Regions from separate parts of the Homo sapiens genome. Here regions 1, 3 and 4 are each linked to region 2. The links are contacts of gene promoters, found by promoter capture Hi-C in blood cells and fetal thymus (Javierre and others, 2016). All regions are on one chromosome and are shown on one strand. Each heading gives the region's core, a stretch centred on a gene start or on the middle of the fragment in contact. The rest is flanking DNA. Distances are from core to core; before and after follow the strand shown.

Region 1 (3,051 bases), core at 452-2,951, 1.3 Mb after region 2:
CATTCAGGACTATTTTATGAACTATCCACAGGCCGGTTGTGTCCCAGTTCTGTGACAGTGGTTAAAGCATGTCCAGTTTATGCAAGTTCAAAAGGCTTGAAGAGTCCCGAGGTTTGGTTAATATAGACAAATGCACCATAGGCTACTATAGAGAAGAAAGCCAGGAAGAAGACGGACAGTTAAGGAGAATGGAAATGCTAACTACCAGTGTAGCTATGGCAATTATTATACTAAGAATTTTATTTAAGGTAAGTGTAGAATTACACAGAGATCAAGGTACACAGAAGAGACAAATCATTTATTCATGCAAAAAATATTTGTTGAGGATCTTGAGATGGAGAGATTATCCCAAATTCAGGTGGGTCCTGAAGGCACCCACAGAAGGCAAGAGGCGAAGTGATAACGGAAGGAGAGAGAGAGAGATTTGAAAATGCTGCACTGCTGGCTTTGAAGATGGAGGGATGGGTCATAAATGTCACTTCAGTACCTGGAAAAGGCAGGCTTCCAGAAGTTATTCGGCCCTGCCAAAACTTTGATTGGGGCTCACTAAAATTTCAGACTTCTGGCCTCCAGAACTATAAGAGAATAAACTTGTGTTGTTTTTAGCCACCATGTTTGTGATAATTTGTTACAGCAGCCATAGGAAACTAATACATGCAGCAAAGAGGAAGAAAAACATGCTAAAATAGGAAAAAACTTACAAACCACATCTCTGGCAACACTCTAGTATCTAGACTATATAAAGGACTCTTAAAACTCCACAATAAAATAATAATCCCATTAGAAAAAGACTGTTTTCATCTATTTGTGCTGCGATAAAGGAATACCTGAGGCTGGGTAGTTTATAAAGAGAAGAAGTTGATTTGGCTCACAGTTCTCCAGACTGTACAAGAAGTATGGTATCAGCATCTGCTTCCAGTGAGGGCCTCAGGAAGCTTCCACTCATGGCAGAAGGCAATGGGAGCAGGCATCACATGGTAAGAGAAGAAGAAAGAAAGGAGGGGATGGTATATTCTCATGATAATAATATAGTGAGAACTTGCCACTATAAAAATGATTTATGAGGTATCCTCCCCATGATCCAAACTTCCCACCAGGCCCTGCTACTAATACCAGGGATTCAATTTCAACATGAAATTTGGAGGCGACAAATATCCAAACTATATGAGAAGGCAAAAGACAGACATTTCACCAAAGAAGATAACACACATAGCAAATAAGTACACGAAAAGATGTTTTCACATCATTAGCCGGTAGAGAAATGTCAACTAAAACCACAATGAGGTATCACTACACACCCATCAGCATGACTAAAGTGAAACGTAAAAACAACATCAAATGCTGGCAAGGCTGTGGAGAAGTGATATTACTCATATACTGCTGGTCGGAATATAAAATGGTACAGCCACACTGGAAAATAGTTTGGCAGTTTCTTAAAAAGCTAAACATGCATTTAACTTATGACCCAACAATTCCACTCTTGGGCATTTATCCCAGAGAAATGAAAACCTATGCTCACACAATGTATGTCTGTGTGCACAAATATTCATAACAGCTTTATTTGTAATAGCCAAAAACTGGAAACAACTCAAATGCCCTTCAGTGGGTGAACTGCTAAACAAACTATGGTACACCTGTACCATGGGACACAATGCAGCAATAACAAGGAATGAACTATCGATAATCTCAACAACTTGGATGGATCTCATGGGAATCATGCTGAATGGAGAAAGCCAAGCCAAATGGTTACAGATTCATGTACATAGCATTTTTGAATTATAAAATTATAGACAGAGAACAGATTAGAAGCTGCAGCTATAAAGAGGTAGCACAAGGGAGCCATGTGGTAGTGAAACAGTTCCAGTGGTGGTTATACAAAGCTAAACATGACAAAATTGCATAGGCACGCATACACACACACACACACACACACACACACACACACGTACAAATAAAACTGATGACATCTTAATAAGCTCTGCAGTTTTCCCAATGCATTTTTCCTGGTTTTGATACTGAACTATAGCTATGCAAGATGTTACCACTGAAGGACACTAGACACTTGGGTCCTCCCAGTATATTATTATTGTAATTTCTTGTGAACTTATAATTATTTCAAAATGAAAGTTAAAAAATAAGTACAGGTAAACAAAAAGGATTTTGCAATGGGAATTAAAAAGAGATGTTTAGTGAGTTTAGAGAAATATTTGGTGTTACGGACAATCCCAGAAAAACACTAGGCCAAGAAGGAAGGGTGGTCAAGTGTGTCTAATTCAGCAAGGTGGTGGCAATTTAGGTGGAATGGTGGAGATGAAAACCAGTAGCTTGAACAGTGACTTATCTAAGAGGTTAAATTTTTAACTCCAGCTATACTTTCCCCAACAAACCTCTTAAGAGAGGTAATGTTTTGTCTGCATCTCGAGTATTCTGGTTCTGAGAGCTTGAACATAAGAGCTTACAATTTATTGAAAGCTTACTTTGATCCAGGACTAATTTAAGCATTTTATAAGTATTAATTCATTTCATTTACAAGCCTATAATGATCTTCCCCATTTTACAGATGAGGAAACTGAGGCACAGGGAGATTTTTTTTTATACATGTATATATCTCTCACTAGCGCATGTGAGAGAGCTGGGACTAGGGCATAGACAACCTGGCTCCACTTATTCATTTGTTCAACAAACATTTGTGGAGCACCTACCAAGGGCCAGATTCCAGGGCTCTCTGCCACTGTTCTGCCTCTAACTTCTACTTTAGTAACAACAGACACTTCACCGATCAGCTGCTTTATCAGGGTTTGAGTTTAGAGTGAATCAAGGGACCAAATGAGAGAGAACAGTTGGCAAGAGAGTGAGACATGGAAATTTTAAGGATAAAAAAAATGGCAAGAGGAGTTCAAGGCTGTAGTGAGCTATGATCATGCCACTACACTCCAGCCTGGGTAACACAGCAAGACCCCATCTCTAAAAAAAGTAAAAAATAGGCTGAGCACAGTGGCCCATGCCTGTAATCCCAGCACTTTAGGAGGCCAAGGCAGGTGGATCATCTTA
Region 2 (2,942 bases), core at 343-2,842:
CAATAGCAGGAAATGCTGTTGTAGACCAAGGAAATTGGGGCTGAGTGCCTAGCTTGAATAGAGCGAGAGAAGTTTGAAACACCATCTGTGGACTACAGCACTGGTCCTTAACCCTAGACGTAACATTAAAATTACATGAGGACCTTTTAAAGATACTGACATTTAGGATCCCACCTAGAACAATTAAGTGAGAATGCCTGGAGTGGGCTTTAAAGTTGATCTTTAAGGGCAGCTGCGGTTGAGAATCAAGAAGTAATAGGAAACAAATAAATGAAAAGTTGTGAGTATAGAAAGAAAACAGTTATGGTTATCCAACTCTGCTTTTCTTCATTGATTTCTCTACCAATCTAGCAACTTTTGACTGGAAAGTCCAAATAGTGGGAGTAAGAGAAAGAGAAAGAAACCATACATTCTCCAGTGGTAGGAAATATGCCGCTGAGATTGGGGAAGAAGACAGAACTGAGTTTCAGGCTGAGTAAAAAAGCCCGACCCAGAATAAGATGATGGACTTTGCAAATAGGTCTAGGCAACGTATGTGGAGTGGGATAATATGAGGACATGGAGCGGTTTCTTCTGGGGGTGAGAGAGTGATCAGAAAATAGTAGGCAGAGGGGAATTTCCGAGCTGGAGATTTTGGCTCTTGGGGATAGTGTGATTTCAGTGAAAACTAGTTTTAAGATGAATTGTCAAAACTGAGGACTGAGATAAAATAAAGAAGGTTATTGGAGGAAGTAAATAAAGTGTACAGTCCTGAAAGATATAAGTAAGGGATGGAGAGGAGAGGAAGAGAATTGAAGTCATTGAGGGTAGAAGGAAAAGTGATGCCTACTGTACAATGGTTAAGAGTTACCAGCGTTGAAAACGTCCCAAACACCCTATCTTACATTAAGACAAGATAATAAATATGAAAATACTTTACAAATTGTTAATCACTCTCCAGAAAAAAAAAAGGTGATCTACAGATTATTCATTCACTAAAATACGTACTAGCCAGCTGAGAACAAAAGTTCAATCTTCTTTAAGCTTCATATGTTTAGCTTAATTTGGCGCGAAATCTGATTATTTTATCCAGTATGTCAACATAGAAAAATTTAATTTACAATTTAAACACATTATTTCTCTCTCATGCAAGTATTGAAATTAAAGTTTCTAAAATCAAAAAGGCTTCTAAAGGACACTGCTATATGGAATATTAATGTGGCATATTAACTGGAAGTGGTAATTCCTGAATGACGCCAAAGGCAATTCTCGCCTTTATACTTTCTCCCAGTCAACATACATTATTTTCTTGTTTTTCCTTTTCTATCCTTCCTTTTGCCACAAACAACAAACCAAACAAAAAAGCAAAACAAAACAAAAACCCTTCCTCCTACCAGCAGAGAGCGCTAGCGCCATGCGCGGCATAAGCGCCAAAATGCTCGGGTCTTCTGTGGGTTCTAACCGCCGAGAGCCAAGCACCCTGAGGTTGTCCCAGCTGGGGATCCGTAGTTGACTTGACGTCGCTGAGCAACGGAAGAGTGGGCAGCATTTGCTCTGAACGCTCGTGCGCGCTACCGCCCAGACGGAAGCGGAAGTGCCGGTGGAGCGCGAGTAGGAAGTGGTGAGTTCGGAGTAGAGATGGCCGCGCTTGCACCGCTGCCCCCGCTCCCCGCACAGTTCAAGAGCATACAGCATCATCTGAGGACGGCTCAGGAGCATGACAAGCGAGACCCTGTGGTGGCTTATTACTGTGAGTCTTTCCGAGTGGCCGCGCCCTTTCTTTCCCAGTTGCATTTTAGGGCCCACACACCTCCCTGAGGTTCTTGGGGCATGCCCCGCCCCCCTCGCTTTAAACCTGAGCTTTGACCTCGAGCCTACCCAGGGAACTCCCTGGGTTCCCACCCCCTGGCAGTAGGAATCCCAAAACACCATGGTGTCCACTGCTTCTCCTATCTTGTGCTTAAATGCTCCAGTACTGACTACACAGGCTCTTGAACTGTGGAATATAATCTTCCAAGGTTTTCTCTGTGTGTGTACACACAAGAGCTTCTTGTCTCAAATAGGAATCCTGAAAATAAATTGAGTTAGGTTTAAAACGAAGGTGAGTGTCCGAAAGAAGGAGTGATGTGGATAAAAGGACGATAGACTAGTTGAAAACATAGTAATAAGTGAATATTATTTATGACAGCATGCAAGCCCAATCAGAAACTCATTTGGTTAAATGGGGAGTATCTGCTACTAAATAAGCAGTTGAATTTGACCTTTCCCCACCCAGCTGCTCTCTCCTACCATGCAGAATTTTTAGTTTTGACTTCTTTGAATAATACCCGCTGTTGAGACCTTTGAAAGCAGTATTTTCACTTTGAGTGTTATACGTTGAATTTACAGTTTGATTAAAAAAAATATAGGTTAACTCTGCTCAAACTTGTAGTGAGTAAAGGGAGTGCCAGTAATTCTGTGTTAACTTTATTTTGTATTCTGTACTCTTAACTTTACTGCAAATAAAACAAGTAACTGGACAATTATAATTCTGAAAAGGATATTTAGAGTTGAGAAGTTGGATATAATGCGTCCATTGTTGTGTATATTGTAAGGTTAGCTAAAATCTGGTCACTGTTATCTCTGCCATACTCCAAATGTACCCTGTTTCTCAAATGTGCAAGGCCTTTTCAGACCTACCATCTTCCACTCTCTTGGAATGTGCACCTTTTTCTTGCACTTGGCAAACTCATGATTCAAGATCTAACCCAAATGTCACCACTTCTGTGGGCAGCAAATTGATTATTCTCTGTGCATTACTTCATTTTGTTCAAATTTTACAGCATCATTTTTATTATACTTGTTCTTCAGTTTCCTCAAGCAGGGTCCATATTCATTCAGTATGTGTTCATTGAGCTACCTTTGTATCAAGCATTAGTAGGCGCTGTGACTACATTTGCTGCATTTTTGGAGCTTACATACAA
Region 3 (3,201 bases), core at 1-2,500, 1.3 Mb after region 2:
TAATAATAATAATAATTTGAATCGTCTAGCCCTGACTTTCCCTTCTGACTCTTGCTAGTTGCTAGCCCTATCATATAGCCTAAAACAATGCGCATTTCTTAGTGAGGGCAGTCATATCACTTGTGACCTTTTTTATTTTTTTTGTTTGTATTACAGTGCTGTCCATGCTTCCAACACTGAGAGAGGCCTTAATGCAGCAACTGAATTCCGAGAGCCTCACAGCTCTGCTAAAAAACAGGTAAATGCAAGTTACAGCATTTTCTGTTTAAGCACTACACTTAAAGTTTATAGAATGAACTGATAGACTTTTCAAAAATCTTTGTTATTTTTCTATCTAATGAAAGTTTATATAGGCTCAGTAAGAAAAATACTAACTATATCATTTAACCTACATTTAATTTTGTCTATGCTCTACTTTTTTGCATAAAGCATTCAAGGCAATGATATTTGTATGTATTGTTTTTCATATAAATAGACCTTATAGCACTTTGAAATTGTTCACAAATTTAATTATGCAGTGCTTGTGAAATGTGTTCCTGAACCAGATGCTGTGAAGCTAACAAAGTTACGTTAAATATTGTGCTTCTTTCTGAAAGAGCTTACGGTGTAATACAGCATGTGAACATACGTTTTAAATAAATAAGATATACAGGACTTATATCTTAAATTACTAACAAAATGAAATACAAACATAACATGAGCATGCAATACTAATAATTTACATTGCCATGGCAGTTTGCTGTTTCCAAAAGCACTTTCACATATGTAACCTTGTATATTGCATGTAGCATGTGTTGGGGTATTGTAATTTGGTATGATACTGTATTAGTTTGAGAAGACTTCCAGCAGGAAATGGCTTCTTATTTTGATGACAATGATGGGAGGGTGGGCAGGGAAATGGTTTCACTAAATAAATGTTAATCATTGTGGCCTTCCTAAAATAATCACTTGCCTTTAATCACCCTTCAAATAGCCAGGGGAAAAGTAGTTCTATTTCTAAACTGTCTCACTGTGCTAGCCCTGGTGCTAGGTACCTTCCATATATGCTCCCACTTAATTTACACAATATCCCTGTGAGGCGGTTACTATTATTCATTTTGCAGTAGGAATTGAGTGCTCAGACAGGCTACATAACAAGTGGGGAATTTTTTTAAAAACACTTACTATATTCAGAGAATACTTCCCAAAATAACAGTGGATTTGTGTACTTGAGATTTCTTTTATCTGATTAAAACAGAATGCTAGTGATGGGGGTTTTCCATTTTAAATTTCTTCATTCTTAGAGGTAGACAGACCTTCCTTCCTTCTTACAGATATAAGGTTTAGCTTATAAATTAGTTCATACAGTTTTATGAAGAAGAAACATATAAGCAGATTGCTTTTGATCAAATAAATAATTACCATTTGTGTGTACATAGGTAGGAATTGAAAAGAAGTAGATTTTAATTTCCTTTTTGTCATGATGAGAAGGCAAGACAAGTTAAATAAGTGAATAGCATTTTTATACAAGCAACATAATACAGATAAAATAATCGTGGTGGCATTCTTCCTTCTTGGTGAATCTGTTTCCTGCAAGGCCCTATGTTCCATGTGCTTTAGGGGATTTAATAGTTAAGATCAAGTCTCTTTAAGACCTTTTCATCCAAAGGAGGAAGTAGACTAAATAAATTATCGTAATTCCGGACATATTTAGTGCAATGACAAAAAGTAAAAGGAAAATTTAGGAGTATCAAAAAAACCAAAGGATTAATTTTGATAGATTATCCTGGACAGCTTTAAAGAAAAGATGTGATTCTTTTTTTCTTAATCGGTACACAGGGAGGAGAATTTCTTAAATTCTGGAGAATTTAAGGTGGGCCACAGTTCTCCTCATTCAGTTTCCTCTTTAAATATCTCAATGTTACTTCTTCTTGGCTTTCTTTTGATTTGAAATTACTATTTGTAATTTGGTGGGGGGAGAAGGGTAATATCCATTTGAAAAATATTTGCATAAATAAGGGCTTGATCCCTTACAAAGTATCATTAAATAAGGCCTCCAATCTTATGACTGCTTTTATATTAATTTTATATGAGACTCTGGTCTCATATAAGCCTGTTGAGCAAGTTTTTTTTTCTTTAAACTATTTGTGATAATAACTAAGATAATAACTAATGAGAAATAAGTAGATGATTTGATAGTCTTATTTTGCCAACTTCATAACAGCAAATAAACAGTTATCACTGTTTTTGATATTTGGCACTCTTCTTGAAGACTGATAATGGCAATGAAGTTTCAATGGCAAAAACAAAAAAATCTTAAACATCCTCCATCATAAGAGAAGTAGAACACTTCGAAAAGATTCGTTTAATTCTCTTTACTTTTTATTTCTCCATGAAGGTATTTTAGTGACATTAAAGAGTCTGGTTGTATTTAACTTGCAGTTGATTTCCATCAAACAAATCATTTGAAAGGAATATTTGTGTTGAAGGTACTTTTCTCTGTTCTACATAGATTTGGAATCTTTTATGTAGATTTTGGAGTTTTTTAAAAAAAAATAGCATCAGTATTTAAAAATCTACTTTTAAGGTCTAATAATGTTAAGTGTAAACATGAAGAAATGTCCTGGGTAACTATTACTGTCTTCTCCCACCAAAATCATCCCAAATAAAATACAGTTTTTTGTTCGTTTGGTTTTGGTTTTTTTTTAGATAGAGTCTTACTCTGTCGCCCAAGCTGGAGTACAGTGGCACAATCATGGCTCACTACTAAGCACTTTCTATATTGAAATTTTCGGAACCACTGTTTTCTTATCTTTTTTCTTTTAGAATTTTTATAAGAAGTACTTAGAAATTTTTCTGAGGGAGCATTCAAAAAGAGATATGAGTCACTTAGGATACATTAAATACCTCACCTTTGAATTGTGGTTGATTCCCAGTTTAATCCGAATACATATGACATTCTGCCGTGAGTCTTGAACACTAGATTAGATTAAGGTTGCAGCAGTGTCTTGCATGAGTTACTCAACACATTTTCTGAACCTGTGCCATCTAGGAAAGAGGTAACTGAAACTATAGAGTCTGCTCATTGGCAAAGAAAGACAAGAAGCTAGTAGTATCTTTAAAATTGTAATAGTAACTCAATTTCTTGTTGGAATGCAAATTTATGTCTGAAAGTAATAATAAAGAATATGGACTTGTGTTTTCTATATCTGTGGTTTTTTT
Region 4 (3,242 bases), core at 738-3,237, 1.3 Mb after region 2:
GCAGGAGAATGGCGTGAACCCGGGAGGCGGAGCTTGCAGTGAGCCGAGATCGCGCCACTGCACTCCAGCCTGGGTGACAGAGCGAGACTCTGTCTCAAAAAAATTAATTTTTTCTTTTGAGACGTTGCCTTGCTGTGTCACCCAGGCTGGAGCGCAGAGGTACTCATTGCAACCTCTGTTTCCTGGGTCAAGCAATCCTCCCACCTCAGCCTCCCAAGTAGCTGGGACTACAGGAGCGCTCTACCACCCTGGTTAATTTTTTGTATTTTTTGTAAAGACAAGGTCCTCACCATGTTGCTTTGGTTGGTCTCGAACTCAGGAGCTCAAGCAATCCACCTGCCTCGGCCTCCCAAAGTGCTGGGATTACAGGTGTGAGCCACCGCTCCCAGCTATGTTTTTAATTTAACAATAATTCATAAATGTTGGCACTTTAAGATAAAAAAATGAATTGAAACACTTCAGAGTTGCAGCACCATGCTGAGAACTGCTGCACTGAACTCTAAAGCTGCCTAAGTCACCCGGTGTCAAGTCACACAAGTCAACTGTAACTCCCTGACTAGCTGTCTGCCTGGCAGGCATTCTCTTTATAGAGAATGGACCAACACCCATGACTGTATATAGTTATAATTAAGAGCACAGACTCTGGGGCCAGCCTGCCTGAATTCAGATCCTAGCTTCACATTGTTTGCTCTTCATTGGAGCTGTTCACAAAAATTCCAATTCTCTTCTCCCTGATGTAGTTAATGGATTATATTATCTGCTGCCTTGAAGTTGGGCATGGCCATGTGACTTGCTTTAATTCTTTTGAGAGCAAAAGTGATGTGTCACTTCTGGGCAAAAGCCAGGAAGCCCTCCTTACTCAAAGTGTGGCCCATGGTCCAGCACTATGGGCATCACCTAGAAGGTTGATAGAAACATGGCATCTCAGGCCCTCCAGGACCTCCTGAATCAGAATGTGAATTTAATAAGCTCCCCAGGAGATGCCTATGCACGTTTAAGTTTGAGAAGCCCTGCCCTAAGGTATGAAGCATTATTCACCATGTTCTCTTCTCTGGCCACAGCAGCTGATGTCCCCGGTGGTGAAGTTTCCTTTAGCCTAGGCTCCTGGCCTGACCTGAGATGGACAAGAAGCAAGGCATGAGAAAAATAAGCTTTGGTTCTAAGCCACTAAAACTTGAAGGCTGTTACATTGGTTTAACTAGCTCCTTCTGAGTGATGTGATCACTTAGCACTCTGTGACCTTGGGCAAGTTACATAATCTCCCTGTGCCTCAGCTTACTTGATGTAAAACAGAGACAGTAACAGAAAATAATATTTTAAACATGATGATCATAAATAAAATGTATTATTTATTCTAAACCCAAATAAAATGATACATTATCTTTTCTCCTTGCCACTCTCTTAAAATGTATACAAGGAAATAAAACATTCTAAGCCAGAAAACATATTTTGGTATCTTAGATTTTTCCTTTACATTTATAGACCAACTTTTCAAAAGGAAAAAACAAAACCATGGTACTGAAGCAATTCACCATGAGCTGTACAATGAGCCACATCATTCGGTTCCAATCACAGAATTTGAACAAGCAGCTTCCAATCTCAGCCTTTTACCTACTCTAGACCAGGGGCAGCTAACATTTTCTCGAAGGGCCAGACGCTAAATATTTTAGGCCTTTGTGAGTCGCATGGTTTGTCACCACTGCTCAACTCTGCCATTGTAGCACACGAGCAGCCACAGACAACACAGAAACAAATGGGCATGGCTGTCATCCAATGTAACTTTATTTATGGACACTGAAATTTGATTGCCATATAAGGTTCATGGGTCACTAAATATTATCCTTCTTTTGATTTTTTTTCAATCACTCAGAATTGTAAGACCCATTTTTAAGTCATGAGTGGTACCGAAACCGGCAGCGGGCTGGATATGGCCCATGGGCCATACTTTGTGGACTCCTGCTCTAGATTCTCAAGTTCATGCTTCAACATGTTAAAGAAAAATTTATTTTGACACTTGTTAAGGTAAGGAAGACTTAATTCAGGACTACAGTGATAGGTTTTAAAACTATCGCAGGTTTTAAAACTATCCCAACAAGAGGAAGAGATCAGGCTCAGCTCTGAATACAACCAGAACATGTGGGGGTTTATAACTAATGGGCAGAGTGAGGGGGTCAGTGATTAGGAAATTACTAAGAGGAGATATCAAGAGTAGAGTTCTTGCAAAATGAACTTAACAGGCTTCTCGTTGAAGGGAGGCCAAGGACTTACACATCAAAAGTAGGGGATGAGAAATTTCATAGATATTGGGGATGTGGGATTCTCTCTAAACTAGCTTAGCAGGATTCTTGCTAAAGCTGGGCTGTATAGGCCCATCAAGAATGGGGGCCAAGGTGGAGGCCTGGTTAAAAAGAGGACTTAGGGCCTGACTGAAGTTTGGTCAAGGAGAGAGCCTTTGTCAAACTACACCATGAAGCCTCCTTAATAGTCATGGATATGTGGTGTTCAACCCAATATCCACTTAGAAATCAGGTGATAAATAGTCACGAGCCTGTTTTCATTAGCTCAACTTGAAGAAAATGTAAGATCCTAAAGATGTCAAACTTTCAGCAGAACTCACCAGTCTAATCCATAAAAATCACGTCGCCCATCGCTCCTTTCCTCACTACACAAAATTAGCAATTTACAAAGGAAATAGTTGGCAGTTGTCTTCATAGATGAAGTCAATGTAGTCTTATTCCTTTGCCAAAAGGCAGAGAAACCAATTCCTGGTGTCTGGTTTCCCTGGGGCTATAAGGCCAGTTCACGTAGGACCACTGGGAAAGACAAGCTTTGGCATCACCACAGATTTTTAACAAGGCGCTATACTACTTTTAAAAAAGATTTAAGTAATTTTTTCAAGAGCTTTGGCTTTTGCTATTTTTACTGACATTTTGAAAGTAGCAGTGCTTACAACATTTTAAGTCTAGATGTCTCTATGGAAACCCAAGATAACTCATATTTTATGACCAAATGACAACCTACCTAGAGTGTTTATCCCATTGGATCACCATAGGTCATCTGCAGTATCAGAAACATCTTAGGTCTATTTTCCAAAACCCTATCTTATCAGGCATAATGAAATTTATATAATTATTACTTTTGCTGAGGAGGAAATTAGGAAGGAAAGAATTTATTTCTCAGGCTTAATTTTGATGCTTATTAAGATATCACTATTTAAAACATTCTTATTAGAAAAATTTTTT

Evidence for each region. The method cuts DNA at HindIII sites, captures the fragments that hold promoters and counts their contacts. A CHiCAGO score of 5 or more calls a contact.
Region 1: a fragment that was not itself captured here is called in contact with the fragment with the promoter of VTA1 in region 2 in 10 of 17 cell types (total B cells, activated CD4 T cells, non-activated CD4 T cells and 7 more); the score reaches 13.8 in total B cells.
Region 3: a fragment that was not itself captured here is called in contact with the fragment with the promoter of VTA1 in region 2 in 1 of 17 cell types (activated CD4 T cells); the score reaches 5.5 in activated CD4 T cells.
Region 4: a contact is called between a fragment that was not itself captured here and the fragment with the promoter of VTA1 in region 2, in 9 of 17 cell types (fetal thymus, activated CD4 T cells, non-activated CD4 T cells and 6 more). The highest score is 15.2, in fetal thymus.

The regions. Positions count from the first base shown.
Region 1 is chr6:143,440,566-143,443,616 of GRCh38, forward strand. The region is part of intron 1 of ADAT2 (adenosine deaminase tRNA specific 2); the gene reads right to left. Among named protein-coding and RNA genes, the nearest start is that of ADAT2, 8.6 kb to the right of the region's middle. The HindIII fragment of the contact is 1,537 bases long and covers 934-2,470 here.
Region 2 is chr6:142,145,671-142,148,612 of GRCh38, forward strand. VTA1 (vesicle trafficking 1) reads left to right here and starts at 1,593. Exons shown (of 8, transcript NM_016485.5): 1 at 1,593-1,729. The coding sequence starts at 1,618. It overlaps NMBR (neuromedin B receptor), which reads right to left and starts at 1,452. Exons shown (of 4, transcript NM_002511.4): 1 at 1,374-1,452. RefSeq lists enhancers at 1,322-1,616, 1,380-1,519, 1,774-2,294. The HindIII fragment of the contact is 1,973 bases long and covers 1,022-2,942 here.
Region 3 is chr6:143,462,760-143,465,960 of GRCh38, forward strand. PEX3 (peroxisomal biogenesis factor 3) reads left to right here. Exons shown (of 12, transcript NM_003630.3): 3 at 157-238. Among named protein-coding and RNA genes, the nearest start is that of PEX3, 14 kb to the left of the region's middle. The HindIII fragment of the contact is 4,518 bases long and covers 1-3,201 here.
Region 4 is chr6:143,421,506-143,424,747 of GRCh38, forward strand. It overlaps ADAT2 (adenosine deaminase tRNA specific 2), which reads right to left. Exons shown (of 6, transcript NM_182503.3): 6 at 1,327-3,242. Among named protein-coding and RNA genes, the nearest start is that of ADAT2, 28 kb to the right of the region's middle. The HindIII fragment of the contact is 1,676 bases long and covers 1,150-2,825 here.